7 separate regions of the Homo sapiens genome follow, and regions 2, 3, 4, 5, 6 and 7 are each linked to region 1. The links are contacts of gene promoters, found by promoter capture Hi-C in blood cells and fetal thymus (Javierre and others, 2016). All regions are on one chromosome and are shown on one strand. Each heading gives the region's core, a stretch centred on a gene start or on the middle of the fragment in contact. The rest is flanking DNA. Distances are from core to core; before and after follow the strand shown.

Region 1 (4,325 bases), core at 969-3,468:
CTATTATACTCCTCCCATACCCTTTTAGTCATCAGAATTTTTGTGATAAAGCCTTTTTATTATTTTAAAACTATAAATTGTGAATCATTGCAACTAGTGATTAGACTGACTATGAATATATGTCCAGGTTATAAATTCCTAAAAGTATGTTTCATTAGAAATACCAAGGCAGTCTTAATTATAGCCTCTGCAATAAAGCTCTGTTTACTTCTATTAAGGTAGGTTTTTTTTTTTTTTTGGTGCAAAATGATTCAGTTTTAATGCATTATTTTAACAAGCAAAAGCAAACAGTTTCTGATATACATGCCATACTGCAAAGCTGTAAACCCGTGTTGCATGGTGATGTGACAAGCACCACATTTCTGGAGGGATTTTTTTTTCTCTCCTACAAGCTCCCCCTCCCCAAGCCGTGGCTATAATTATTTCACAAAATGCAGTTTGCCATTTCTAGAGACAAACACTTCCTTCTCCCTCACCAAAACTTCAAGTTCAGGCCAAATATTGAATGAAAATAGAACTTGAGAGGCAGGCTTTGTTTGTAGCATGTTGTTTCTGCTAAGAGTTGCCCCCTACCCAGGCTCCACCCCAGTGGTCGGACTGAAGTGTACATGTTATGTTTTAACAGATGGGCCGGCTGGCGGCTGCTGGGCTGTAAAACAGGAACGCGGATTCTGCACTGAGTGGTATTGAACTGAACGCTCGTAAAGTTCATGGACATACTCTGACCCAGACAGACCAGGCAGATGCAGACATGCTTACGCATACACACTCACTAACACCCCACAGCTCAGAGGATCCATCTCTGTGACCCAAGGGAAGTTCAAGGCTGAATTTCCCCTTCATATATTTACCTCATTCACCTTTTAATTTTATATATACACACACTCACACATATACACGTATGTATGTGTGTATATGCGCATCTACATCTTCATATACACATACAGAACTATATATCTCAACATTTTCATGTATTTTCAAAGGTCTAAACATCCCCAAATTCTGGACCTGTTTCTGTCTAGTATTTTCAAAAGCTCTTATTCATGTCAAATAAGAATTGTAAGAAAATATCGTATTGAATTCTGTTTATTCCGCACATAATATAAACTACATGCATGTAGTTGGTCTCAGAAAAACAAGCTGCTTTTACCCCCTTACCATTAAGGGGGGAAAACAATCTAACCCAGACCGAGTCACAAACGGAGTGTCAGGTTTAACCTTGAGTTCTCTGCTGTCAATTCCTGACTCAACTTCATCACTTAAACACGCAGGTGCTCAAACAAACACCAACCGACCAGGCTGGCAATCCCTTTCGCAGCCTCTAGGATTCTCCAAGGCACTGGGCACCAGAACCGACAGCAGCTCCCGCCTGGTCCTAACGAAGTCCTTCGGACACCCCTTGCGGGTGGATGTGGAGGTCCGAGCACCTCAGGAGGGTCATGGATTCAAGTGCTAATAGAAAGCAATTACTTTAGAAAGTTCAAAGCCCAGCAGTGCTCTCAATTCCTCTCAGTAGCTGCAGAGCACTGAAGCCCCCGCTACAGAACCCGGCTGGTACTCCAGTTCTCTGGCGCTGAGACCCACCTTGAGCCCGATGAGCGCTCGCTCAGCCTTGAGATCCAGACGCGGACGCCGGGTCTTACCGTACCGCACAGCGCGGGTAATTTTTCAGGAACCGCGGTCCGCACGCCGCGGGCGCGGAGGCCGCCCCAGCGCTCCATGTCGTTGCCGCAGAGGGGCAGGGGACGCGTCCCGGCCCCACCTACCCATGTCAATTACGCCAAGTTGGTGCGGACTGGAACCGCGTCCCGGGCGGAGTTGGGATGCTTTGACAAGAAGAAGTTCGGGAGTGGGGATATTGGCACGGAGTAAATCCCGCCCAGCCCTGACCTCCCCACAGCGGTCACGCTCGGACGAACGGACCGCCGAGCGCCAGGACGCGTCCCGTCCCCTCTCGCCGCCGCCGAACCGCGCCGAGAGGAGCCGCTAGCCCGGCGCGCGGCCACTCACCGTCCTCGCCGAGTCCCGATAGCAAACCGACGTCCCTGCTGCGGTTCTAAGTGCCAAGTTGCCCCCAGTCGGTGGCTGCTCACGGCCCAGTGGACCAGGGCACATTGGTTCCGGCGGGCACCTCAGGGGGAGTGCGGCAAGCCTGGCGGCCGCCGCGGCCACACAGTCGCCCACAGCGCGCTGACAATTCACGGACCTGCTCAACGAGTGAGGCGGAAAGCAGGGCTAAGCCGACCAGGCTCTGGAGGGGAGGCGGGGCTGCCGCTAGGGGCGGAGCCAGCCCCGGGGCGTCATCAGCCCATGACTGGCGGAGCCGACAGCCAGTCGTGGTGGCGCTGGGACCGCCCCGTAACCGCCGTCCAGTCGCCTGCGGCCGAGGGCAGGCTGGCGGGACGCGCCGGCGGCGGGGAAGTTGGTTATTGCGAAGTGCCGTGGCTGCCGGCGGGCGCTGCGGGACTCTCTGCAATGGGACCCGAGCAGCTCTAGAGGGAGGCGGCGGCCCCAGAAGGCCGTTGGCTGAGAGAGACCAGGAGCCCTCGGAGCCGCCGCGCGCATAGCGCTGTGGAGCAAGAAGCCAACCGCAGCGCGGGTCGACACGCCAGTATCTGGCACCGGCAGGAGGCGCGGAACTTAGCTGCCCCATCGGAACCCCGCCCGGAGGAAGCTGAGGGCCGAGAAAGGATGAATTCCGGACCGGGTCGCCCAGCCACAAGTGGAAACCTGGGCTCTCTGGAAAACGTTCTGATCTCGATCTGGCTATCTCTGAAACAAAACTCCAGCCCCGCAAACCTCCCAAAGTTCAGTACACGTCCCCGTCCTCACCCCTGCCCTCCGGGCCACCTGCAGCGGGGGACTTACCGGCGCCTCGGGTCTCCTCCTCCCGACCCAGCGCGTCGCGGACACAGCTGGCGGCCAACAGGAGGCTTGGGCGCTCGACGGCGCCGGAACCTGTGAGACCGTCGCTCTGGGCGGGCTGCCGTGCGGGGTGGCATCCTCTGCGGTGACTTCTGCTGTCTTTTGGGTCCGCCAGGATTCCAAAATCCCAGGCGGGTCGCTAGAATTATCCATCTTCGTGGACAGGAAGCCCCAGAACGAACCACATCTGTCCCACTCTGCTTCCGCCCTCCTTCCCCTTCGCAAGCTCCTGGCTGGGATGGAGACATCGGACGAGCTCGGAGATCCCGACCTCTCAGGGGTCACTCGCAGCCGAACAGCCTGGAATATGGCCTTGTGGGCCCTTCCCGCCCAACCCCCTAGGACCCCACTGCTCATCTTGTCAACCAGTTTCTGAGCCCCTACCCTGGCTGCAGCACGTGCTCGCACAGGCGCGCTGAGCTACTAACATAGAATCAAAAGCAGGGAGTTGGGTGTTCTTGCTTTCCCGCTGAAACCTAGAATGTAAACAAGCCCTAGACCGTCAGCTGTGGGTGGGTAGGGGCCTCTCCCTGCCTAGAACTGCTCTTGCCATGGGTAGGCACCTAACCCGTATTAGTAAGAATGAAGGAATGCATGCTCATAACAAGAAAGGGGTCAACCTGCTGCCCTGATACTCACCTTCACCACTTACGTCTTGCTTCCAGCGCAAGCCCACTTCAGACCATTGCCTCATTCAGGTCCCAGAAGTCCTAAGGGTTTTAGTCTCTCAGTATGGGCAATTATTCACATGTAAGGGAGCTGCAAGGTGTTATTTCAATGCCATCTGGCCTCTATAAGGTCTTGCATCATAGCTGACCTCTCATGAGAAGGTTCTGATGAGGTCACCAGGGAGAAGGAATGTAAAGGGCTGGTGGCTGAAAAGGAGTGAAATGGCCCCTCTTAGGTGAGCTCTGGCCTGGTTTGAGTTTCAATTCTGTCTCCTCAGCTCCATTTCTCAATGGGAAAAGGTCCATAGGAAGGTTGTCAGAAGGGCAGGAGACTAGGGCAGGGATAGCCCTTTGCAGACCCTGAAAAATTGCTCAGTAATGCAAACATTGTCCATATTTAAGTTCTTTCTTTTCTTTTCTTTTTTTTTTGAGGCAGAGTCTCACTCTGTCGCCCAGGCTGGAGTGCTATGGCTTGGCTCACTGCAAGCTCCGCCTCCTGGGTTCACGCCATTCTCCTGCCTCAGCCTCCCAAGTAGCTGGGACTACAGGCGCCCGCCACTACGCCCGGCTAATTTTTCGTATTTTCAGTAGAGACGGGGTTTCACCGTGTTAATCAGGATGGTCTCGATCTCCTGACCTTGTGATCCGCCCGCCTCGGCCTCCCAAAGTGCTGGGATTAGAGGCGTGAGCCACTGCGCCCAGCCTTAAGTTCTTTATTTTCTATCTTGTGGA
Region 2 (4,325 bases), core at 824-3,323, 330 kb before region 1:
AATGCCATTTCCCTCAACAGCCAGCACGTTTCAGCATGGAAGAGCAGGATGTGCCTGTTTCTTTTTGAAGGATATTTCTAGATATATTTAGTAGTTTTTACTTTGTTATATTTACAACTTTATGAAGCATGTTTTTAGATACATTTAGTAGTTTTTACTTTGTTATATTTACAACTTTCACGTTCATTTCTGAATCAATTCCTAAAGGTGTACTGTTGACCACTGTCTTAGTCCATTTGTGCTGCTATAACAAAATATTTGGAACTGGGTAATTTATAAAGAACAGAAATTTATTGCTCACAGTTCTGTGGGCTAGAAGGTCTAAGATTAAGGTGCTAGCAGATTTGATGTCTGGTGAGGATTTGGTTTCTGCCTCCAACATGGCACCTTGTTGCTGTGTCCACATGGCAGAAGGGCAAAAGGATCTAGGGGCTGGGCATGGTGGCTCATGCCTGTAATCCCAGCACTTTGGGAGGCCGAGGCAGGCGGATCACCTGAGGTCAGGAGTTCAAGACCAGCCTGGCCAACAGGGTGAAACCCCATCTCTACTAAAAATACAAAAATTAGCTTGATGTGGTGTTGGGCACCTGTAATCCCAGCTACTCGGGAGGCTGAGGCAGGAGAATCACCTCAACCTGGGAGGTGGAGGTTGAATGGAGCTGAGATCACGCCAGTGCATTCCAGCTTGGGCAACAGACAGAGACCCCATCTCAAAAAAAAAAAAAAAAAAAGAAAAAGAAAAAATGAAGGAACTAGGGAGCTCCCTTAAACCTCTTTTATCACAGCACTAATCCCATTCATGATGGTGGAGAGCTCATGACTTAATCACTTCCCAAAAGGGTGCCACCTCATAATTCTATCACATTGGGTATTAGGTTCTAACATATGAATTTTGGAGGGACACATACATTAAAATCATAGCAACCACCCGGGCTCTGTGGATAAAGTATTGTTTGGATGGGCATCCAAAAGCAATTTCTTTTATTCATTTCATGTAGCAATTAATATGTTTTAATTATTATTATGTGCTCTTCTGCAATACCGAGACACCTCTTTTATTTTTTGGTCTGTTTGGTATAAGGAAAACAACTTTGAATTGTGACTCTAAAGTTTCTGTCTGTTCTCTGATGAAAGATAAAATGGTCACTTTCTACTAGAGAGCATAATATTGTGGTTCTTTTGGAAAAATCAGCTGATTTATGAGATAGGTCATTGGGCTTTGTTGGAAATTATGAAAATGGCTTAGTAGCTTTAAAGCACCATTTGAGAAATTGAGATTTTCCCTGTATGCAGTCTTAAAATTAAACTAGGGACATTATTTAAATTGACATTTATAGATGGGGTAGCATTCTGGGTGTTTTTGAGGTTTGTTTTGTTTGGTTGTTTTTGTAGAGATAGAGTCTCCCTATGTTGCCCAGGCTGGTCTCAAACTCCTGGGCTCAAGCCATCCTCCTGCTTCAGCCTCCCAAAGTGCTGGGATTACAGGTGTGAGCTACTACGCTTGGCTGGGAAAGCATTCTGGAAAGTCTGTTTTGTTTTGTTTTGTTTTGTTTTGTTTTGTTTTCAGATCAAGTCTTGCTCTGTCACCCAGGCTTTACAGTGGCACGATCTTGGCTCACTGCAGCTTCCGCCTCCCAGGTTCAAGCAATTCTCGTGCTTCAGCCTCCTGAGTAGCTGGGATTACAGGCCCTTGCCACCACACCTAGCTAATTTTTGTATTTTTTTAGTAGAGATGGGATTTCACTATGTTGGCCAGACTGGTCTCAAACTCCTGACCTCATGATCTGCACCTCGGCCTCCCAAAGTGCTAGGATTACAGGCGTGAGCCACCGTGCCTCACCTGCATTCTGCAAAGTTTTGTCTAGAATTTCCATGTCCCACATCTCCACCAATGCTTAGTGTTATATAACACATGCCCATCTGATTGATGTGGAATGGTATACGTGTATATGTGTGTTTTGTTGTTGTTTTAAATAAGTAGTTTTTTTGCAAAGACCATACAAACTTGCACTCTGTAGCAGTGGTTTGTCAGTAAGTTGTAGAATTCTTGTGGATTTAAAATACACTTCCCCAAACGCTAATGAGGGTGAGCATTTTTCATATCTGCACTGGCCATTCAAGTTTTGCCTCCTGACAATTCCTTGTTCTCATTATTTGTTCATCTTTTGCCTTTTTTTTATCACTGTTTATCAATATAAATATTCCGGATATTAATCCTTTATCTATAAGATGTATTGGCCAGGCATGGTGGCTCACGGCTGTAATCCCAGCACTTTGGGAGGCCAAGGAGGGCAGGTCACCTGGGGTCGGGAGTTCGAGACCAGCCTGACCAACATGGAGAAACCCTATCTCTATTAAAAATACAAAATTAGCTTGGTGTAGTGGCACATGCCTATAATCCCAGCTACTTGGGAGGCTGAGGCAGGAGAATTACTTGAACCCAGGAGGCAGAGGTTGTGGTAAGCCGAGATCTCACCTTTGCACTCCAGCCTGGGCAACAAGAGCGAAACTCAAAAAAAAAAAAAAAAAAAAAAAAAAAAGGTGTATTGCAACACTTTCTTCAAGTCCGTGGTTTGTCTTTTAAGTTTATATTTGATTCTTTCTATTGAGCTGAATTTTAAAACTAACTCAACTTTTTCATTATCTTTCTTTGTATTTTGTGCCTTCTTTAAGGTTTTAAGATCCTTTCCTGCCTACATGTCATAAAGATATGCTGTTTTGTTTTGTTTTGTTTTGTTTTGTTTTAGATGGAGTTTCACTCTTGTGGTTCAGACTGGAGTGCAATGGCAAAATCTCGGCTCACTGCAACCTTCGCCTCCTGGGTTCAAGTGATTCTTCTGCCTCAGCCTCCTGAGTAGCTGGGATTTACAGGTGCCGGCCACCATGCCTGGCTAATTTTTGTATTTTTAGTAGAGATGGGGTTTCACCATGTTGGCCAGGCTAGTCTCAAACTCTGGACTCAGGTGATCCACCTGCCTCTGCCTCCCAAAGTGCTGGGATTACAAGCATGATCCACCCCGCACAGCCCCAGATTTGCTTCTATATTTTTTCTTTCTTTCTTTTCTTTCTTTCCTTTCCTTTTCTTTCTCTTTCTTTTTCTTTCTTTCTTTCTTTCTTTCTTTCTTTCTTTCTTTCTTTCTTTCTTTCTCTCTCTCTCTCTCTCTCTCTCTCTCTCTTTCTTTCTTTCTTTCTTTCTTTCTTTCTTTCTTTCTTTCTTTCTTTCTTTCAGATGATGTCTCGCTCTGTTGTTCAGACTGGAGTGCAATGGTGCAATCTCAGCTCACTGCAACCTCCACCTCCCAGGTTCAAGTGATCCTCCTGCCTCAGCCTCCCAAGTAGGGTAGCTGGGACTACAGGCGCGTGCAAACATGCCTGGCTAATTTTTGTATTTTCAGTAGAGACGGGGTTTCACCATGTTGGCTAGGCTGGTCTCGAACTCCAGACCTCAAGAGATCCGCCCTCCTTGGCCTCCCAAAGTGCTGGGATTACAGGCATGAGCCACCATGCCCAGCCAATTTTCTTCTAAAAATTTTAACATATAAACTGCTTATTTAGCTCTAGTAACTACCTGAAATATATTTTATATAGGGTTTGAGATAGGGATCTCACATAGAGATACAGAGAGCTAATAAAGATAGTAAATATTTATTGTGTGTACTGCGTGAGTGCACTGTTTAAAATGATTTACCTGTTTTAACCCATTACATTCTCACAACTTCATGAGGAAATAATAACATTATCCTTGCTTATAGGTTAAAAAAAAAAATAGAGAAACAGGCCAGGTGCAGTGGCTCAGGCCTGTTCTCCCAGCACTTTGGGAGCCCAAGGTGGGCGACTGCTTGAGGACAGGAGTTCGAGACCAGCCTGGCCAACACGGTAAGACCCTGTCTCTATGAAAAATACAAAAATTAGCTAGACATGGTGGCACATGCCTGTAATCCCACCTACTCGGGGGGGCTGATGCATGAGAATCACTTGAACCCGGGAGGCGGAGGTTACAGTGAGCTGAGATTGCGCCACTGCCTTCTGGCCTGAGTGACAGAGAGAGACCCTGTCTGAAAAACAATAATACACATACACAAAAAAACCAGAGGCACAAATATGTTAAGTAACTTGCCTGAAGTAATGCAGCTATTAAGCAGCAGAGTCAGCTGTCAATCTTTGGTAGATTTGCTCTAAAGCCCATGATCTCAACCTCTGGAATATTTTTCTCTCATTGTCCACCACATATACTAAATAGACCAGTAGTTTGTAAGACCACTTCTATGATATATTAAGTTCCCACATATGTAAGGCCTGCATCCAGGCTGGTGGTGGTGGTGGTG
Region 3 (4,325 bases), core at 803-3,302, 310 kb before region 1:
CTGGCTGCTGAATATTTTTGTAATTACTTTTACAGGTAACTTTATTTTGAGACAAAGGGAATGAAAAATAGACTTGTATACCAAGGCCAGTGTGTGTGTGTCTGTGTGTGTGTGTGTGTGTGTAAGAGCCCATATTAATTCTTCATCTCCCATACTGTGAAATCACTAGATAACACCCAAAAGGGGAAATTCAAGAAGTGGTATTATAAGCATATTATTTAGAGACATGGTAAGTATCAAAAGAATGAGCAAAAGTAGTTAAAAGCATTGATCTGGGAAATGGGAAATTGAAGTGGGATGTAGGCGGGGTGACTGGTTGGGATGGTGAGGAGCAGCTGGGATTTTTCTTTATAACAAACTATGGAATTTTTTGACTCTACACTGTGTGTGTATATAATTTTTGGAAAAAAGAAACAAAATGAGAGTGATCACTTCTAATATGAGGTTATAGGAAAAAAAAAAGAATGTATAGCCAACTAGTTAAATACTGCCAAGAAAACAGGAAAGGAGCCATTATTACATTTGCTAGCATGGGCCCATTGGTGACACTCGAACAACTTCATTCCACTAATAGGAATTAAAACAGATAGAGATAAACATTAACCACACTTAACTAACATTTTCCCCAAGTATTGCAGATATTTTGTAACATACTTAATTATAAATGTGTTACTTTCATTTTTATGGGTATTCCTTCATCGTACTGAAGTATAGAACCTAAAGGAACTACCCTTATAAATAATTTTAGTTTTTCGTTTTGGTTTTGGTTTGGTTTTTATCTCCCTTTCTTTTTTCTTTTTTTCGAGACGGAGTCTCACTCTGTCGGCAGGCTGGAGTGCAATGGTGCGATCTCTGCTCACTGCAACCTCTGCCTTCTGGGTTCAAGCGATTCTCCTGCCTCACCTGTCGAGTAGCTGGGACTACAGGCACGCGCCACCATGTCCAGCTGATTTTTGTATTTGTATTTGTATTTGTATGTATGTATGTATGTATTTACTTATTTATTTATTTATTTTTGAGACAGAGTTTCGCTCTTGTTGCCCAGACTGGAGTGCAATGGCACGATCTCGGCTCACCACAACCTCCGCTTCCCGGGTTCAAGCGATTCTCCTGCCTCAGCTTCCCGAGTAGCTGGGATTACAGGCATGTGCCAACACGCCCGGCTAATTTTGTATTTTGAGCAGAGAAGGGGTTTCTCCATGTTGGTCAGACTGGTCTTGAACTCCTCACCTCAGGTGATCCGCCCACCTCATCCTCCCAAAGTGCTGGGATTACAGGCATGAGCCACTGCACCTGGCCAATTTTTGTACTTTTAGTAGAGATGGGGTTTCACCATATTGGCCAGGATCGTCTTGATCTCCTGACCTCGTGATCTGCCTGCCTCAGCCTCCCAAAGTTCTGGGATTACAGGCGTGGGCCACTGTGCCCAGCTTATTTCCTTTTCATGGTAAATAATTTTAGTTTGTTGGGTTTTGTTTGTTTTGTTTTGTTTTTGAGACAGCTCTGTTGCCCAGGCTGGAGTGCAGTGGCGTGATCTTGGCTCACTGCAACCTTGGCTTCTTTGGGTTCAAGCGATTCTCCTGCCTCAGCCTCCCAAGTCGCAGGGATTACAGGTGCCCACCACCATGCCTGGCTAATTTTGTATTTTTAGTAGAGACAGGGTTTCACTATGATGGGCAGGCTGGTCTCGAACTCCCAACCTCAGGTGATGCGCCTGCCTCAGCCTCCCAAAGTGTTGGGATTACAGGCGTGAGCCACCGGGCCCAGCCTGGTTTTTTATTAATTACAGGTTATTCACGGCCATTCTCTCTAAAGTCAATTAATTAGTTGTAGAAAGCTTCAAAGTAAGCTAGAGATGAGTTATCCTTTGCTTAGGGGAAGGATTCCATTACTGGTATGTTGGAATTAGAAAGGCACTGGTCTAGATGAAGACAGGGATATTCAGATACACATTTACAGTATTTCCTGCTCTCCCAGACCAAATTAACATTCCACTGTCGCTAAGAAGAGAAAGAGAGGAGAGACCACACAGGAAGACATGAGCAGAGAAAGAGCATCGGTGTTGGTCAGGAACAAGGAAGCCTCCTGTCAGTGGAGGTCAGCTCCCAGAGGCTGTTCAGTCTCCATGTATGAGAGGGCGGTTCACTGCTCCGCTGAGGTGCCTTGCTAATTGTCCTTGTCTGGCGACTCTCCCCTATCCCACTCACAGAGCGGTTAGCATACCACACATTGCTTGTCTATCAGAAACGGCAACCCCCTTTCCCAGCAAAGCTTTTTCCACCTCCCTACCCGGCAGCTCTTCGTACTCACCTGGCCCTCCCTAGCCTGATAGCTCTCACCAGAACAAGACTGGGCCAGACAGAAGCTGGGTGCCATCTCCCACTGAGCAGGGCTATGGGGGAAGACACCTTCCATTGCAATCACAACTGGGTTGGGCTATCAGTAGAAAGCAGAACATAAGGGCAGGAAAGGATGGAGGAGGGCCACATTTACTTCTCAGCTCACATTTCACAAAACACTGCCAAGCTCTGCAAATTCTACGTTCAGAAATTCCACCCAGGACCCTGGCCTCCAGGTAAGGAGGATAGGAAGGGCCAGTCCTAGATACCGCCTTGTCCATCTGCACGCTGGTGAGTGAAACAGTGTCTTTACAAGGTGACTACTTTATGCCATTACTTTTATTCTTATTATTCAGTTTTTTAAAAAACTCATTTCATTACCTAAAAAAAAAACAAAGAAATATTTCAGGTATATAACCACCAAAGTTGGCTGAAAATATTTCTTATTCTTCCCTTTTTAGCATTACATGTTGGATAAGATTACAACCAGCTCGAGTCCAAATGTGATTTAGAACATTTTCAGTTCCAAAGAATGATGAAGTATGAAGTAATTTGTTTTGGGCTAACAAACTAATTTCAGCTGAATTAATGGTAAAATTTTTTTAATTACCCAAATATGTTTTTAAAAAAAAACCAAACTGCAGAAACTCACTTATTTGTAAGAACATCCAAGCACTGTTAATTCCAAGCACTGTCATCTTAGATCTAATGCTTTTTGTACATAGCATTGATTTCTGAGGTTGCAAGTGCTTACCTAAGCCAAACTTAGACAACAGGGCAACAACTTAGTGCTTTGAAACATTCTATAAATTTTTCTAAACATCACTAACACTTGCTTTAATGTTAATCTTTTTTCGAACTCTTAAAGACTAAAAAGTGAATTGTAATTTTATATTTTAAGGCTTAGTCTTTGTGATAATAAAAGTAATTTCCTGGCCAGGCATGGTGGCTCAGGCCTGTAATCCCAGCACTTTGGGAGGCTGAGGCAGGTAGATCACCTGAGGTCAGGAGTTTGAGACCAACCTGGTCAACATGGCGAAACCCCATCTCTACTAAAACTACAAAAATTAGCTGGGTGTGGTGGCGCATGCCTGTGATCCCAGCTACTTGGGAGGCTGAGGCAGGAGAATAGCTCAAACCCAGGAGACGGAGGTTGGCGTGAGCTGAGATCGTGCCATTGCACTCCAGCCTGGGCAACAAGAGTGAAACTTCGTCTCAAAAAAAAAAAAGACAGTAATTTTCCTGACAGTCTTCAAAAATTAGTCTTTAAACTCAATACTATATTTTCTTAAGAATCCATTAAGTCTTCAGAATTCAAAGATTAAAGACACTTGGAAATTGAATCTAAGTTTTAAGTGAAAATAAAAAATGCCTATAATTTTTATGCTTCTTCCACATTTGCAGAACAAAGCATATTTATTAAAACTTTAAGCCGGGCATGGTGGCTCACGCCTGTAATCCCAGAACTTTGGGAGGCCAGGGTGGGTGAATCACCTGAAGTCAGCAGTTCAAGACCAGCCTGGTCAACACGGTGAAATCCCATCTCTACTAAAAATACAAAAAATTAGCCGGGCATGGTGGCACATGCCTAAAATCCTAGCTACTCAAGAGGCTGAGTCAGGAGAATCACTGGAACCCAGGAGGCAGAGGTTGCAGTGAGCTGAGATTGCGCCATTACACTCCAGCCTGGGTGACAAGAGCAAGACTCCATCTCAAAAAAAATAAAGAAAAAAGAAAAACTTTAGAGAATCAGGCACACCCTCTGACATTTTAAGATACTTAATCATTGCTTTATGAAAAGATACAACGTGTGACTGAAAACATTAGATTGTCTTGAATCGAAACATGGATTTAATGATATTGAATGGACAAATGCCCCTTAAGGGCATTTGAGTCTCACTACAGCATAGCAGCTGCCCTGAGCAAAGCAAAAGCCAGGTTTAGCAATACCTCATGCAAAAATAATTTAGGGAATGTAGCCAGCAG
Region 4 (4,325 bases), core at 967-3,466, 300 kb after region 1:
CATTTCTGTTCAGCAGATGGAGAAATTGAAGCACTATGTTTAAGAAACTTATGTCATGATTACTAAGTTATAAGTATCTTAACAGGCAGAGATAGGGACTGGTTCTGTGTTTTATATCCAGTCTTTGAATGATGACTAGGATGGAGCAGGCATTCAGTGCATTGAGTGACTTATCAAATGAATCTCAGATTGAGCCTGAGGTACCTCTCTCTTGATTCGATGGAGCTTCTGTTTCATCATTTATTTTCTAGAACAAATGAGGCCAGCTACCTCTGTGTGCCCTCCTCTTCTAGAAGGGAAATATGCCAGGTGAGAGAATGTGGAGGCTTGTGTTGCTCTGAATTGTTCTGGTAGATTTCTTTAATATTGGCTGGCATAAATGAGAAGGGCTTTTGTTCTTGTGGCAATTGATGATGATTTGCATATTTTAGTAATTTACAAAATAGTAGCCACCTTGCACAACATAAGAAACACCCCTCTCTCCTGGACCATGGAATTTGGTGACCTGGCTATTGAAATACATGGCTTGTTATGCACATTTCAGCCCCACTGACAACTGGTACCTGGTGGTTGCTGTACTGAAAAGAATTCTGTGTGAGTCATTTCAATGCATTTCTAATTGGGATTTTTTCTTTCTTGTAGGTTGTTCTTCAGAAAAAAATGGTTATTTCTTTGAACTCATGCCTGAGCTTTATTTGTTTATTGTTATGCCACTGGATTGGGACAGCATCACCTCTGAATCTTGAAGACCCTAATGTGTGTAGCCACTGGGAAAGGTAATGGTTTTGAAAGGAGCCTGACAAAGAATTGCTGAGAAGTTCCCTTATATACTGTAATTATCAGTCAGATGTATAAAATTAGAATTTGTGAAGAGATTGTGAAATTACTTTTATGTAAAAATCATTAGTCATAGCTAGCAAATTAGGTGGTGTTAGTCACCTTGGTCTTATAGCATATATATTATGTGAAAAAAGTCTTGATATATCTAATTCTAATGCAGGTGCAATTGTAAGATTCAGGGAAGACATTAATAGCACAATTAAAAGATCTTCCTAATGTCTTGTCTCTGATTTGAATTTGCATTAATTTTGGGGAGCTGGACTTATGCATGGGAACCCATGAGTGAGAAGTGGAAAGCAGCATGAGATAATATACTAAAGTATTGAAATATATGGGATTTAAAAGAATTTTGCTGTAGATGGCTTGAAAACGGAGACCTAAATTTGGTGTAAACTGGCAAGGCTGCATAGAGGTAGTGTCCCCTGAGATGCTCTTGAAGAACTGAATAAGATGAGTGGGTTGCAATGATTGGAAGGGGATCTTGGAAGGGGAGTCAGTTTGGCAGTTTGAAATCAGTGCCATGTGGACCACCGAGAACTGTGCACAACCAGAGCAGAGTTAGTACCGTATTGGAGGAGGGTGTGGTTATGTGAAGGCAGATGATGTAATGTCTAGATATGAGCAATTTGCAGTAGAAAGTACAAAACAGTAGATCATCCTCTGGGACTTTATAGTCCCTTTTGGAACACAAAAATAGTGCAAACCCATCCAGCGATATTGCAGTACAATCAAGTCCAGTTGGCTCTGCTCTAATGTGCTACTTGAATTTCCCAGAAATTATCTTATCCAAAAACTGTAAATGCAAGTGTTTTAAACAAAGAGAAGATGTTAAGTACTGGAGGGTAATATGTATTTTTAATAGCTGTAAGTACAATTATATCAAACTCTTGATCTTCAGCACCATGATTAGCAAACCACAGAGCACACATTCTAATCACCTTTGTTCCCCACTGTTAGGATGCATAAAGCCCAGAGCCTCTCAAGCACAGCAGTGGTATTATTCTGGGGACATGCTGGTTTCTCACTCAGTATTATTTTTGGTAAGGGCTTATCCCTACCTCCATTGGTAGTGTTACAAGCAGGGTAATTAAAACATAATTACCTGATTAGTCAATGGAGTTATATATTATTATGAAACTTTAAGCTGCAGAGAGAATATATGTATATAATAAAGTTCTATATATTTGTGGTATTAACTACATTATACAGAATTTAAGCAGAAGGACTTCCTATTAGTGCTCTTTATAATATTTACAGCACCTCCCATAAGGCATTTCATCAATAAAATATATAATAAATACTTATTAAAGTCATGAATCATTGGCTACATCAATGGGTACAGGTCAAATTTAGTAAAGGAAGAGACCATTGGTAGTTGAACTTCTTGGAGGGATGATAGATTTGGGATGGGAGGAAAAGTCAAGTTTGTGAGATGTTGTGAAATAAGAATCAACAGATCTTGATAATACATTGACTGAGGAAGTGAAGGAGGCAGAGAAGACGAGGATTTAGAACTTGCTGTGTGAAGTAATCCAGATGACATTGCGCATATGGAAAAATAAAAGAAAGAGATTTGATTTGAAAGGGAAGGGGTTAGTGTGGGTTTGCCATGTTGTGTTTATAAAATCAGTTTAAAATATGGGCCTGGAAGTATTTGGGAATATAGATTTGGGAATATCCAGCATGATGAGATGTGAGATGTGAACAGAGGAACTCTCTGAGGGAAAGACTATAAGAGAAAAAAAGGTTGGGTGCGGTGGCTCAAGCCTGTAATCCCAGCACATTGGGAGGCCAAGGCAGATAGATCACTTGAGGCCAGGATTTTGAGACCAGCCTGGCCAACATGGCAAAGCCCCATCTTTACTAAAAATACAAAAAGCCAAGTGTGGTGGTGCATGCCTGTAATCCAGCTACTTGGGGGGCTGAGGCACAAGAATCACTTGAACTCAGGAGGTGGAGGCTGTAGTGAGCTGAGATCATGCCACTGCACTCCAGCCTGGGTGACAGAGCGGACCCTGCCTCAAAAAAAATAAAAATAAAAATAAAAAAAGAGAGAGAGAGAAAACCATTTCAAGGCTTCAAATAATCCGGCACCCACTTATAAATACACATTTTGTCCTGCTTCCCTGGTCAGCAGTTGACCAGAGCTGCCAATGCATAAGTGCATTGTCTGGCTCACCACTGATAATTCCCACTGTCTAAAACACTGCCTTGCATGTGGCATGTGTTTAATAAATTGTTGAATGAGTGAGTTCATCTTCTGATAGGAAACGAAATGACTAAATATGTACATCAATGTGGGAGGGGCATGGAGAGTGAGAAAGACAGATAGACAAGGGGCACATTAATCTCTAAACCTAATAGAACCCAACAACTGTGCAAGTGATTAGTGCAAACTCTAAAATGCTCATGAAGGGGGAGGGAAATTGAATGTGAACAAATAGGAAAATGATGAAAAAAACTTCCAGTTTTTTTAAATGTACTGCCAGGAAGAAGAGTTGACAGCTATAATCTTCTTACTGATAAATTTTCTGTTGTAAGGCTAGATAATGATTTCTAGAAGAAAGGTAAAAGAAAGTAGAATTGTTTTGATAAGAATGGGGACCAGTATAGAAGATAAATTAAAATGATCAAATAAAGGCACAGGTGACAGGTTCGTCTAGTATTTTCAAAAATGTAAATGGGCTTGAACTGAAATGGGGAGAGGAAGATGAGCTCCAAGGGCATAATTCTGGTAGTAGGGCTCATTTTAAGCTCTTCTTATGCTCAAAACCACCTGTACCCAATGGCTCAGAACCATGCAATCACCTGGAGGTTACTTCTCAGACTGTGGTTTGCAGAGCTGAGGCATGAACTTGTTAGAAATACAGACTCTCAGGTCCCACCCCAGACCTACTAAATCAAAATCTGCATTTTAACAAGATCCCAGGGAGGTTTGTCTGCATATTCAAGTTTGAGAAGCACTAAACAAAAATACTTCCATCAATGGCTTCTAGCTGCATCCCAATTGATATCTGAATATTTATTTTGAAATAGAGATGTGCCTTGTTTTAATGCAGCGATTGTGATTCTAAGAAATTGTACATAAAATGAAATTAAAGAAAATGAAATCATTTAAAATACTCAAGGGGTGTTTATGATTAAAGGAACTCTGTACAGTGTCTTTTTGGAAAATGAATAACTCTAGAAATTATCTATTCCTTCTCCTAACCTTCTTTCTGTATTCTATGAATTTGAGCTTTTCCATTCAGTGGGGTTTCTTCTAAAGAAGGCACAAGTGAAGAGAAACCACACTTTGACCAAACCTTCAATTACTAACACAGAAGGGAGAGTAATTGAATCAGCAGTCCTGAAGCAAGCAGAGATAAGAAATGAAGATTATTACCATATCTGATTAAAGTAACAAGATAATTTAGGCAGGTAAAATGTAATTAACCACTTTGGAACGTGCCCAAGTGATAATGTCTTCCTCCCCTTATTCTCCA
Region 5 (4,325 bases), core at 1,298-3,797, 290 kb after region 1:
CTCCTCAAGTGCTCAATATACTTTAATGTTTCATGACTTTATAGATCCTGGTATTGTTCTTACTTAGCAACCGTATATTGATCATCTATATATTCTTGCAGATGGGGAGAGAAGTAGAAGTCAGGGAGGAGTAGAATAGGAGACAAGACAAAACCATGGGCTCTGCTTTCAAGGACCCAACAGTCTAGTTGAAGAGGTGGGATTGGTTATGTCAAAAGATGACCAGCAGCCCAAGGCAATGGAGAAATATCAGATGAAGGATGTGGAGAGTTGGTTCCGTTAGAGATTTCTATGCAGTTTCTAGTGAAAAGACTAGAGAATTTTTACTTATGTCCTGAACACACTGTTAAGTAGATCTTGGATGAGAAAATAAATTATTGCAAAGAGAGAAGTAAGTTGACAGAAAGCTTATGTAATGGTTTGAATTTCAAACAATTAGGGAGGCTTACATGTTGGACTAAGGGAATTTTAGGAATGAATCATAGGCTCTTTCAAATTAGCGGGATATGAAAAATATATTCCAGGCAGGAACTATTTCTACCCTTCATAGATTCTTCAATTGAGATATTCTTCATGTATGGTTTACATTCATTAGATTTTATTTTCCTGTTTAAGTTAAATGATTAGGAAGTTTAAAATCTTGAACAAATGACAGTAATATAGTTTATGGAAACTGTATTTATAAGAAGGAAATGAATGTATTCATTGTGATGGGGTGCACTTAATTTTAAGTGCTTTTGGCTGCTGTTGTTTCCAATATTTGCAGTAAAATGAAGATACTGCTATTAAAGACTTTGAATCTTAAAAAAAAGGAGCTGAGGGAGAGAATTTATAATAAAGGCAACAGGGAAATGACATTTGATGAGGACAAGAACAGAAGAGATTAAGGAAAATGTCAGAGATTGCAAAGCTTGTGGCCCTGCTGAGTTCAGAACTCAGTGTTAGTTCAAAAACCTTTAGCTTCCTTAGTTCAAATTGCCCTTAAAGAGTTATCAGAACCTGCTTAAAATTAAAGGTTTTTTCCCCATAAAAACTGTAATTATCTTGATATTAATGTTCCAGTTTATTTATGTATTTATTTTTAACATTATACTTGGTGTGCATTTATGCCCACCTGTGCATAAAGGAAATTCTTGCCTTATTTAGGTAATATACAAACACTTATGTACATTTGGGGTCCATTAATATATTTTAAAATTTATAATCACAATGTGACCTTCATCAAAGACCATCACAGATCTTAATTCCTTCTCAAAATTAAAACTTAAAAATATATGAATCTTGCCGGGCGTGGTGGCCCATGGCTGTAATCCCAGAACTTTTGGAGGCTGATAGAGGTGAATTGCTTGAGCCCAGGAGTTCAAGACCAGCATGGGCAATATGATGAGACCCGTCTCTACAAAAATACAAAAATTAGCCAGGTGTGTTGGAATGCATGTGTAGTCCCAGCTACTCAGGAGGCTGAGGTGAGAGGATCCATTCAGTTTGGGAGGTTGAGGCAGCAGTGAGCTGTGATTGTGTCACTGCACTCCAGCCTGGGTGACAGAGTGAGACCCTGTCTTAAAAAAACAAACCAAAACAAAATAACCCTTTTTCTTTCTGTCTATATTTCAAGCATATATTTTGAATCACTTTGTAATAAAAATCTTTTTATTTTCTAAAGTGTGCTAATCTAACACTCTAAGAACATGTTGAAGCAGAGCAGTCTTTCAGTTGCTGTAGACCGTAGCAATCTGCTAATTACTGAAGGTTCATCCTAGGGTATATTCCCACACATTGTTCTTTCTGGTGAAGTTTGCTGAAATGGGTCCCTGTACCAGGCCCACAGGCAGGCCCCAGGAATTGTGCTTTTTATCAATGGAGATGCAACACTTCAGAAGACGCTTTAGTGCAACAAAAGTCTGCCATATAAGTTTGGTGCCATTGCACCTTTGCTCTGCCTCCTTATCTTGCTTTATTACTTCCTGCTGGCTTCTGCTGCTTGACTCCCAGCCCCTCCTGGATGCTCCCTTGCTGCTGTCAAATGTTTGCTCATAGTCACCTCACCTTGCCCTCAGCTGATATGAATACCATGCCTGCAAGAATCATCACCAATGCAGCCATGTTTGAGCAGGTCCAATTATTGACAATACAGGAAGGCTAATGAGTAGAAAGCCTTAAGCTTTAAATGAATTTACAGAATGATTAACTATTAATTAAGCCATTGAAAGTGCCCATACGTTCTTTTCAGAGACTACATATTTTTTATCTCTAATTAAAACAAATATCCCCCAAACAAAACTTTCAGTGTTTTTTCATATTTGTAATCACTGGTATTGCAATCATTTTGTTTCAACTCTAGGATTTTCCACTGCAGTTGTATATTAGCAATTAAATGATAATCTTGACCTTCCATTTCTGCCTTTTAAATATTAAGAATAATGATTTCAGGGTTCCAGAACAAGTGATTTGCATATTCTGAGCTTTATTTTTCCTGTGGGCCATACATTCATTCAAGAATACCAAGAACATGTAGAGATGAACAGTGTACCATTCTGACATTAAGGAGTCTGGTAGCTAGTGGAGAGATGAGCGGTGTGGTGTGTGTTACTACTCTGACGAAGAACACATCAGCTACTCTTGGGATGTTTCAGGGTGTTACAGGAGCAAAGAAGAAGAATGACAAGGTTAGCCAGGGAGCTCTTCTAAAAGAAAGTGACAGTTGATCCTTAAAGAATGAGTGAGAATTAAGTTGAGCAGATAGTTAAGGGCATTCCAAGAAGGAACAGCATGGGCGAAGACAGAGGAGTGAAAACCTCTAATGTTTGGGGAAAATCAAGTACCTGAGAATTGTTCAAGCGACATATACATGAGTTTGTTGAGTGATGAGGCTGGACTCAGATATCTTGAGTCTTAAATGCCAGTTTGAATTTTACCTAAAAGGCAAGCTCTCAAAAGCTTTTAAGAAGGGGAGTGTGGGGTTGTTTGTTTTTTTCTTGTAAATTTGTTAAAGTTCTTTGTAGATTCTGGATATTAGCCCTTTGTCAGATGGGTAGATTGCAAAAATTTTCTCCCATTCTGCGTGTCCGCTCTGATGGTAGTTTCTTTTGCTGTGCAGAAGCTCTTTAGTTTAATTAGATCCCATTTGTCAATTTTGGCTTTTGTTGCCATTGCTTTTGGTGTTTTAGTCATGAAGTCTGTGCCCATGCCTATGTCCTGAATGGCATTGCCTAGGTTTTCTTCTAGGGTTTTTATGGTTTTAGGTCTAACATTTAATCCATCTTGAATTAATTTTTTTATAAGGTGTAAGGAAGGGATCCAGTTTCAGCTTTCTACATAGAAAATGTGGCACGTACACACCACGGAATACTATGCAGCCATAAAAAAGGATGAGTTCATGTGCTTTGCAGGGACATGGATGAAGCTGGAAACCATCATTCTGAGCAAACTATCACAAGGACAGAAAACCAAACACCCCGTGTTCTCACTCATAGGTGGGAATTGAACAATGAGAACACTTGGACACAGGGTGGGGAGCATCACACACCAGGGCCTGTCATGTGTCCCCTGTCATGGGGGAGGGATAGCATTAGGAGAAATACCTAATATAAATGATGAGTTAATGGGTGCAGCAAACCAACATGGTACATGTATACATATGTAACAAACTTGCATGTTGTGCACATGTACCCCCTAGAACTTAAAGTGTAATAAAAAAAAAGTGAGGGGGGAGTGTGATGTTCTGACTTGTGTTTTTAAAGCATTGGTGACAGTGTGGAGGAGGAATTGAGTTGATTGGTAAAAAGGATGAACTGATCAAACTGAAAAACTAGTCAAAGTTAGTGTTTCTTGACATTGGTTTTGAAACTTTGCTCTCAGTAATGGGATCAGTAAATATGATTAGTGCCCTTATAAAAGAGACCTCAGAGTGCTGCCTTGCGCCTTGCACCATGTGAGAACACAAGGAGAAGGTACCATCTATGAATCAGGAAGCAGCCCCTCCCCAGACACTGAATCTGCCAGCGCCTTGATTCTGGACTTCCAGCCTCCAGAACTGTGAGAAATAAATTTCTGCTGTTTTTAAGGCACCCGGTTTATGGCACTAGGTTGTAGCAGCCTGACCTAACACACCCATTGTATCTTTACAGTAAAAAGTCAAACTGAGGGATAAAAACTTGATGATGTTTTCAGGAATATCCAACCAAAAAAGTGGCCATTTCCTCATCCCTGATAGAAGTTTTTGCTAAGATAAAAAATGATAAACAGTTTTAAATCATGGGAACATACCAAGTAGCCATGGTTGGCATCACTGGCTAAAAATGCATCTACAAGAACTTTGAAAAGCA
Region 6 (4,325 bases), core at 1,020-3,519, 280 kb before region 1:
TCCTTTCTTTTCTTTCTTCCCTCCCCCTCTCCCTCCCTCTTTCTTTTTTTATTTATTTCTTTCTTTCTCTCTCTTTTTCTTTCTCTTTCTTTCTTTCTCTCCTTCCTTTCTTCCTTCCCTTTCTTTCTTCCCTCCCTCCCTCCCTTCTTTCTTTCTCTTTCTTTTTCCTTCCTTCCTTCCTTTCTTCCCTCCCTCTCTCCTTCCTTCCTTTTTCTTTCTTTCTTTCTTTCTTTCTTTCTTTCTTTCTTTCTTTCTTTCTTTCTTTCTTCTTTCTTTCTTCCTTTCTTTCTTTTTTCTTTCTTTCTTTCCTTCCTTCCTTCCATCCTTCCTTCCTTCCTTTCTTTTCTTTCTTCCCTCCCTCTCTCCTTTCTTTCTTTCTCTTTCAGTCTTTCTTTACATTCGTTCTTTCTTTCTTCCTTTTTGAGACGGAGTCTCGCCCTGTGGCCCAGGCTGGAGTGCAATGGTGTAGTCTTGGCTCACTGCAACCTCTGCCTATCGGGTACAAGCAATTCTGCCTCAGTCTCCCGAGTACCTGGGATTACAGGTGCGCACCACCACGCTCCGCTAATTTTTTGTATCTTTAGTAGAGACGGGGTTTCACCATGTTGGCCAGGCTGGTCTCGAACTCCTGACCTCGTGATCTGCCCGCTTTGGCCCCCCAAAGTGTTGGGATTACAGGCCTGAGCCACCGCGCCTGGCTTTTTTCTTTTTTAAAATTTATTTTGATTTTTTATAGATACGCGGTCTTTCTATATTGCCAAAATTCTTGAGCTCAAGCAATCCACCCACCTCAGCCACCCAAAGTGTCGGAATTACAGGCATAAGCCACCAGGCCCACCCTGGTTGTTTTAAAAAATATATTCCTTGTTCAGTCTCCACAACTTCACTGTAGACTCTGTATTTGAAATATCTTTGTTTTTTCTTAACATACTACTTTTTATTTAATTTGACAAATATATGTTAAATAAAAAAAATTTTTTTTTGTTTTGAGATGGAGTCTTGCCTTGTCGCCCAGGCTGGAGTGCAGTGGGGCGATCTCGGCTCACTGCAAGCTCCGCCTCCCGGGTTCACGCCATTCTCCTGCCTCAGCCTCCCAAGTAGCTGGGACTACAGGCGCCCGCCACCATGCCCGGCTAATTTTTTGTATTTTTTTTTTTAGTGGAGACGGGGTTTCACCGTGTTGGCCAGGATAGTCTCGATCTCCTGACCTCGTGATCCACCTGCCTCGGCCTCCCAAAGTGCTGGGATTAAAGGCGTGAGCCACCGCGCCCGGCCCTAAATAAATGTTTTAAGTCCTTTCCCTGTGCATCTAATTTGTCAGACCTGTGTCCAATCTAAAGTTTAAGTCCACGTGGCTCTTAATCTCTCTGAGAAGAAAAGTCTAGTAGGGAAGATAAATGATATGCTTATTTGATAAATATTTATTGAACTTCCTAATAGCAGGAATGATGCTAGGCACTAGGGATGCAAAGGTGAATTGGTCAGGGTTCTGGTGCTGGAGGACTCACTCAGTGTGGCGGGAATTGTCAGTTTCCGCTGACAATAATGTTACCAGCGGAAGAGATCAGAGCCACCCTGAGTTACCAGCCACCTATCCAGCCTTACATCTGTATAGGTACGCAGCAACTTTGGTTCTTGCCTTCTCAGAAGAAAGAATTCTACTGAAGGGCATAAGGAGCGAGACAAGTTTCGGAGCAGGAATAGAAGTTTGTTTAAAACGGCTTTAGAATAGGAAAGAAGGAAAGCACACTTGGAAGAGACCCAAAGAACAAAAAGGGAGAGTCAAGTGCCCCATTTAACTGTGATACTAGGACTTTTTTTTTGAGACGGAGTCTCCCTCTGTCACCAGGCTGGAGTGCAGCGGTGTGATTACAGGCATGAACCACCGCGCCCGGTGATACTAGGACTTGTATAAGCTCACCTCTTTCCCATGATTCTTCCCTTAGGGTGGGCTGCCCGCCTGCACAGTGCCCTCCTTACCCTTTGGAATTGAGCACAGCGCAGTGTGTTTAGGGAGTCATAAGCATGCCTATCTGAGGCTTTCTTCCTTTTGCCGGTGGAGTTTACCTGGAAGATCATAATTCGCCATTTTTGCCTCTTAATATGCATGCCCAGGAAGTTTCTTCTCCCTGAGGCTTGCATTCAATTAACATTTCATATTAACAGGTGTGGACCCTCAGGAAATGCCTTTTCCCTGGCGCTGCCGAATTATCGCACTCGGAGAGGCAATGCCGTAATTGCTGATAGGCTTAGTGGGTGGGGGAGAGCCCTCTCCTGTCTGGCTCCTGCCTATCCAACTACCTGTAGGTAACAATAAGACTCACTCACTGAACTTAACGAAAAAACCTCTAAGAGATGTTTGAAATTTGCATTTAGACCAGGAAATGTGTGGTCTTATAAGACATCCTCACAAAAACGTAGGACTAGGAGTTCTCTTAAGATCGTCTAACAATTATTTGAGTGATAAAGAACACTAGGCCAGGCCCAGTGACTCATGCTTGTAATCCCAGCACTTTGGGAGACCGAGGCGGGCAGATAATCTGAGGCCAGGAGTTCGAGACCAACCTGGTCCAACATGGTGAAACCCTGTGGCAGGCACATGTAATCCCAGCTACTGGAGAGGTTGAGGCAAGATAATTGCTTGAACTCGGGAGTTGGAGGTTGCAGTGAGCCGAGATCAAGCCACTGCACTCCAGCCTGGGCAACAGAGCGAGACTCCATCTCAAAAAAAAAAAAAAAAAAAAAAAAGGCCGGGCGCAGTGGCTCACACCTATAATCCCAGCACTTTGAGAGGCTCAAGGCAGGCGGATCACGAGGTCAGGAGTTCAAGACAATCCTGGCCAACATAGTGAAACCCTGTCTCTGCTAAAAATACAAAAATTATCTGGGCGTGGTGGCACGTGCCTGTAATCCCAGCTACTTGGGAGGCTGAGGCAGGAGAATCACTTGAACCAGGAAGTCGGAGGTTGCAGTGAGCCAAGATCGTGCTGCATCACTCCAGCCTGCCGGCAGAGCAAGACTCCGTCTCAAAAAAAAAAAACCAAAAAAAAAAACAAAACACTAATTGAGAGAGTAGAAGTCAATGAAAGGATGTTCTAGTTAGCTACAGGTTGGAACTCTAACCCAAATCACCATTTGCATTCTTAATATGCCCCCAGTTTCAGGCGATTTCTTTTTGGGCACACCAGAGATCAGACAAATGCCATAATGCCTACTCTGCCCCAAATGGGGATTTTCAGGTATAGCAAGTGTAAATATAGCTTTTTCCAGAAGAAGCGGGGTTGGGTGGGAGGGGAAAATCACACAATTAATTTTCATGATAGAGATCCCAAGAAAGAAAGTGGAGGTGCTTACTGTGATTTCAGTTTAATTAGAAACACATCCTGAATGTTAAGACAAAACCAAAAGTGTTGGTTTCATTTGAACTTGAGAAGAATTGGAGACTATAGACTTAATTATGTTTCCCATCCCCATAGTAAACAATAAACACCTATTATGTTCTTCCAGAGTTAACCAAGTCTATGAGCCAATGTAATCAGTCCAATGAATGTGTTAGAATAGATACTACACATTTTGTGGGTGCTACTGCAGCTTGTATGTGTTGGCAGCAGTTCCGCTTTATTTCCTGCTGATTTTTTTTTTTTTTTGTACCTTCACTGCCATATAATGATTTAGGACTTTTGCTTCCTGAGGTCAGTGAGAACATTCATATCTGATACTTAACTCCAGAAGAAGATTCTTGTTTAGTTATGAGAAAGTGAATGGCTTTAGTGATGATTCGCAGAAATCTCCCAAGTGATGATGGAATTCTGAAAGGAAGTATAACGTATTTTTACTTAAAAACAAAAAAACAAAAAACAAAAAAACCCCACAAAAACTACCCAGGACAAAAAAAAAAAACATTTAAGTTAACAGACCTCATATTTCCCCCAGAGTCCTTAAGTGATTTTCTAAAACATTGTGTTAACTTACCTTCAAATAATTTAAAACACATCAGCTTTAAGAAAATGTGGCACATATACACCATGGAATACTATGCAGCCATAAAAAATGATGAGTTCATGTCCTTTGTAGGGACATGAATGAAATTGGAAATCATCATTCTCAGTAAACTATCGCAAGGACAAAAAACCAAACACCGCATGTTCTCACTCATAGGTGGGAATTGAACAGTGAGAACACATGGACACAGGAAGGGGAACATCACACTCTGGGGACTGTTGTGGGGTGGGGGGAGGGGGGAGGGATAGCATTAGGAGATACACCTAATGCTAAATGACGAGTTAATGGGTGCAGCGCACCAGCATGGCACATGTATACATATG
Region 7 (4,325 bases), core at 907-3,406, 260 kb before region 1:
ACAACCTCTGCCTCCCAGGTTCAAGCTATTCTCCTGCCTCAGCCTCCCGAGTAGCTGGGATTACAGGCATGCTCCACCATGCCTGGCTAATTTTGTACTTCTGCAGAGACCGGGCTTCTCCATGTTGGTCAGGCTGGTCTTAAACTCCCGACCTCAGGTGATCAGCCTGCCTCAGCCTCCCAAAGTGCTGAGATTATAGGCGTGAGCCACCGCGCCCAGGATTTTTTTTTTTTTTTTTTTTTTTTTTAGACGGAGTTTCGCTCTTGTCGGCAAAGCTGGAGTGCTATGGCCTGTTCTCAGCTCACTACAACCTCCACCTCCTGGGTTCAAGCGATTCTCCAGCCTCAGCCTCCCGAGTAGCTGGGGCTACAGGTGCCCACCACCAAGCCCGGCTAATTTTTGTATTTTTAGTAGAGATGGCATTTCACCATGTTGGCCAGGCTGGTCTCCAACTCCTGACCTCAGGTGATCCACCCACCTTGGCCTCCCAAAGTCCTGGGAGCCACCACTCCTGGCTTTTTTTTTTTTTTTTAATAGAGATGGGGGTCTCACCATATTGCCCAGGCTCATTTTGAACTCCTGAGCTCAAGCCATCCTCCCACCTCGGCCTCCCAAAATGCTGGGATTACAGGTGTGAGCTACCACATTGGGCCCAGAAAGTTTCTTAATGACTCTTTCCAATCAATTCTCAACCCTGTAGGAAATCACTGTTCTGATTTCTTTCACCATAAATTTGATTTACTTGTTCTTAAACTTATATAAATAAATCTTACAAGATGTACTTTTTATTACCTGGCTTCTATGGCTCAATATAATGTTTATGAGATTCAACCATGTGGTTGGTGTACCTGCCATTCCTTTTTTTAAAATTGCTAAATAGTACTTATACCACAATCCATTTTTCTATTCTCCTGTTGATGAACATTTGGATCTTTTTCAGTTTTGGCTGTGTAGGGAGTACAAACTTTCCCCTACTCTTAGCTTCTATGGCTGGGCCTGAGAATTAAACTGACCTGATACATTTCTTTGTGGCGTGATCTTGGCTCACTGCAACTTCTGCCTCCCGGGTTCAAGCACTTCTCTGCCTCAGCCTCCTCAGTAGCTGGGATTACAGGCGCCCATCACCACACCCGGCTAATTTGTGGATTTTTAGTAGAGACAGGGTTTCACCATGTTGGCCAGGCTGGTCTTGAACTCCTGACCTTGTGATCCACCCGCCTTAGCCTCCCAAATTACTGGGATTACAGGCGTGAGCCACCGCGTCCGGCCAACCTGAGACATTTCAATAGGATAAAAGTATACAAATTTTACTTAATATTTTTAATTGTACCAGAGGCTTCATAAGAAAAAACAGACCGAAGAAGTGGTTAGGACTGAGAGTTTATATAAATGTCCTTTCTTTTCTTTTTCTTTGAGATGGAGTCGCACTCCACTGCCCAGGCAGGAGTGCAGTGGTGCGATCTCACATTGCAACCTCCATCTCCCAGGTTCAAGCAGTTCTCCTGCCTCAGCCTCCCGAGTAGCTGGGATTACAGGTGCCTGCCACCATGCCAAGCGAATTTTTGTATTTTTAGTAGAGATGGGGTTTCACCATGTTGCCCAGGCTGGTCTTGAACTCCTGACCTCAGGTGATCCACACCCCCCCCCTTGGCCTCCCAAAGTGCTGGGATTACAGGCGTGAGCCACTGTGCCTGGCAGAGTCTTTTCTACATCTGCTGTAATTCCCAATTGGCTTCAGCTCAAAATAATCAATATGCCAAAAGCGACATTCTGGGGTGGCATGTTCTGAACCCCTTCAGCTACTATGAGTAAAGCTACTATAAACTTCTTGTTCAAGTCTTTTAGTGTACATATGCTTTCATTTGTCTTGGGAGTGGAATTGCTGGACTATAGGACCCATTTTTACCTTTATAAAGAACTGTTAAACAACTTTCTTTCTCTCTCTTTCTCCTTCCTTCCTTCCTTCTTCCCTCCCTCTTTCTCTCTCTTCTCTCTGTCTGTCTTTCTTTCTTTCTCTTTCTTTTTTGAGTCTGGCTGTATTGCCCAGGCTGGAGTGCAGTACCATGATCTCGGCTCACTGCAACCTCTGCCTCCTGGGTTCAAGAGATTCCTGCCGGGCGCGGTGGCTCACGCCTGTAATCCGAGCACTTTGGGAGGCCGAGGTGGGTGGATCACGAGGTCAGGAGATTGAGACCATCCTGGCTAACACGGTGAAACCCCATCTCTACTAAAAATACAAAAAAATTAGCCGGGTGTGGTGGCAGGCACCTGTCGTCCCAGCTACTTGGGAGGCTGAGGCAGGAGAACGGCGTCAACCCCGGAAGCAGAGCTTGCAGTGAGCAGAGATTGCGCCACTGCACTCCAGCCTAGGCGACAGAGCAAGACTCCGTCTCAAAAAAAAAAAAAAAAAAAAAAAAAAAAAGAGATTCTCCTACCTCAGCCACCCCAGTAGCTGAGATTACAGGCACCCGCCACCATGCCTGGCTAATTTGTTGTTGTTGTTGTTGTTAAATTTTAGTAGAGATGGGGTTTCACCACGTTGGTCAGGCTGGAGAACTGTCAAACAATTTCTGAAGTGGTTGTACTATTTTACACTCCCATCAATAGTATATAAAAGTTTCAGTTGCTCCTGTACTCTGTATGTAAATTGGAGAGGTCCCTATTTACTTTTCAGTGTCATCTCTTTTCAGAGACTTTAACAGAATGTATTTTGTAGCATTAAATTCCAAGTATGTGGGCAACCAAATCCTGGATAATTCTTGCCCAGTTACCAATATAAATTCTCAACATACACAAATACAATATTTCATACAAAAGATAGTCATCTCATTTTATGTGATAGTTTTATTCCTGAAAAACTTATAAAGCTAATTTGTGTAATTCAAATCATTAACTGAATGCATCTTCCCCTACTTCCATGTCCAGTTCAAATGGTCCTCTTGCAGGATGTTCTATCATGTTGTCCTGAACTGAAGTGATTCCTTCTTTAAATTTTAGCAGTTTCAGCCGGGCGCGGTGGCTCACGCCTGTAATCCCAGCACTTTGGGAGGCCGAGGCAGGCGGATCACAAGGTCAGGAGATCAAGACCATCCTGGCTAACACGGTGAAACACCGTCTCTACTAAAAAGCACAAAAAATTAGCCAGGTGTGGTGGCGGGCGCCTGTAGTCGCAGCTACTCGGGAGGCTGAGGCAGGAGAATGGCGTGAACCCGGGAGGCGGAGCTTGTAGTGAGCGGAGATCGCACCATTGCACTCCAGCCTGGGCAACAGAGCCAAACTCTGTCTTAAAAAAAAAAAAAAAATTTAGCAGTTTCAGTGATTTGACACTTGTCATCAATGTCAGTTCTTTGGGCCTTCATAATTTATGGCATCATTGCTTACCCTATTTAATCACATGTAAACATTTTATTTCCACACACACACACACACACACACACAAACAATACAGTGCCTTCACTGAAGGAAGGAACTATATCTTATACTTAAAAACAAACAAACAAACAAAACAAAAAACTCCTAGGCCAGGCATGGTGGCTCATGTCTGTTATCCCAGCACTTTGGGAGGCCAAGGTGGAGGATTGCCTGAGCCCAGGAGTTAGAGACCACCCTGGGCAACATGGTAAGATCTCATTTCTTTTCAAATTTGAAACAAAACAAAACAAAATTCAGTCATCCAGTGGAGTGTCTTGCACATAGGAGGTACTCTAGCATTTCTTGCTTCATTGGTTTTTCTGTTTTTGTTTTGCTTTAGGCAAGGTACAACTGTTGTTTTTTTTTTTTTTTTTTTTGAGACGGAGTCTCACTCTGTTGCCCAGGCTGGAGTGCAGTGGCACGATCTCGGCTCACTGCAAGCTCTGCCTCCCAGGTTCACGCCATTCTCCTGCCTCAGCCTCCCGAGTAGCTGGGACTACAGGCACCCGCCACCACGCCCAGCTAGTTTTTTGTAATTTTAGTAAAAATGGGGTTTCACCGTGTTGGCCAAGATGGTCTCAATCTCCTGACCTCGTGATCCACCCTCCTCGGCCTCCCAAAGTGCTGGGATTACAGGTGAGAGCCACCACGTCCGGCCTTTAGGCAAGGCATAACTGTTATGACAGCTTAAGTAAATTATATGCTTTTTAAAAATTATATGGTAATTTTCTCAATTTTCCATTTTTCTTGACTAGTGTAAGCCAGACCTAAGTTAAGATTATTGACTAAAATACACTTCTCTTACCACTTTACAAATTCCTAGTTTAAACCACCTCCTGCTTGGTGTGGTTTGAAATAAAAAGCACACCATAAGGAATTAGAGATTCTGTCTGGGGTTTCCCTCTAATTCTCCC

Evidence for each region. The method cuts DNA at HindIII sites, captures the fragments that hold promoters and counts their contacts. A CHiCAGO score of 5 or more calls a contact.
Region 2: a fragment that was not itself captured here is called in contact with the fragment with the promoter of MARCHF3 in region 1 in 2 of 17 cell types (neutrophils and monocytes); the score reaches 13.8 in neutrophils.
Region 3: a contact is called between a fragment that was not itself captured here and the fragment with the promoter of MARCHF3 in region 1, in 1 of 17 cell types (neutrophils). The highest score is 7.8, in neutrophils.
Region 4: a contact is called between a fragment that was not itself captured here and the fragment with the promoter of MARCHF3 in region 1, in 1 of 17 cell types (M1 macrophages). The highest score is 5.5, in M1 macrophages.
Region 5: a fragment that was not itself captured here is called in contact with the fragment with the promoter of MARCHF3 in region 1 in 12 of 17 cell types (naive B cells, M0 macrophages, M1 macrophages and 9 more); the score reaches 14.0 in naive B cells.
Region 6: a contact is called between a fragment that was not itself captured here and the fragment with the promoter of MARCHF3 in region 1, in 1 of 17 cell types (neutrophils). The highest score is 7.1, in neutrophils.
Region 7: a fragment that was not itself captured here is called in contact with the fragment with the promoter of MARCHF3 in region 1 in 4 of 17 cell types (neutrophils, total B cells, naive B cells and 1 more); the score reaches 10.0 in neutrophils.

Annotation. Positions count from the first base shown.
Region 1 is chr5:127,028,340-127,032,664 of GRCh38, forward strand. MARCHF3 (membrane associated ring-CH-type finger 3) reads right to left here and starts at 2,219. Exons shown (of 5, transcript NM_178450.5): 1 at 2,011-2,219. It overlaps LOC105379163 (a long non-coding RNA gene), which reads left to right and starts at 3,004. Exons shown (of 2, transcript XR_007058920.1): 1 at 3,004-4,325. RefSeq lists a silencer at 2,181-2,560 and an enhancer at 2,557-3,101. The HindIII fragment of the contact is 7,560 bases long and covers 1-4,325 here.
Region 2 is chr5:126,697,172-126,701,496 of GRCh38, forward strand. No RefSeq gene overlaps it. Among named protein-coding and RNA genes, the nearest start is that of SPMIP10, 68 kb to the left of the region's middle. The HindIII fragment of the contact is 7,151 bases long and covers 1-4,325 here.
Region 3 is chr5:126,716,308-126,720,632 of GRCh38, forward strand. No RefSeq gene overlaps it. Among named protein-coding and RNA genes, the nearest start is that of LMNB1-DT, 58 kb to the right of the region's middle. The HindIII fragment of the contact is 434 bases long and covers 1,836-2,269 here.
Region 4 is chr5:127,330,649-127,334,973 of GRCh38, forward strand. MEGF10 (multiple EGF like domains 10) reads left to right here. Exons shown (of 25, transcript NM_001256545.2): 2 at 643-776. The coding sequence starts at 661. Among named protein-coding and RNA genes, the nearest start is that of MEGF10, 42 kb to the left of the region's middle. The HindIII fragment of the contact is 4,677 bases long and covers 1-4,325 here.
Region 5 is chr5:127,314,212-127,318,536 of GRCh38, forward strand. All of the region lies in intron 1 of MEGF10 (multiple EGF like domains 10), which reads left to right. Among named protein-coding and RNA genes, the nearest start is that of MEGF10, 26 kb to the left of the region's middle. The HindIII fragment of the contact is 776 bases long and covers 2,160-2,935 here.
Region 6 is chr5:126,748,613-126,752,937 of GRCh38, forward strand. LMNB1-DT (LMNB1 divergent transcript) reads right to left here. Exons shown (of 4, transcript NR_134485.1): 4 at 3,351-3,809. Among named protein-coding and RNA genes, the nearest start is that of LMNB1-DT, 26 kb to the right of the region's middle. RefSeq lists an enhancer at 676-1,601. The HindIII fragment of the contact is 8,892 bases long and covers 1-4,325 here.
Region 7 is chr5:126,765,544-126,769,868 of GRCh38, forward strand. The region is part of intron 1 of LMNB1-DT (LMNB1 divergent transcript); the gene reads right to left. Among named protein-coding and RNA genes, the nearest start is that of LMNB1-DT, 8.8 kb to the right of the region's middle. The HindIII fragment of the contact is 6,998 bases long and covers 1-4,325 here.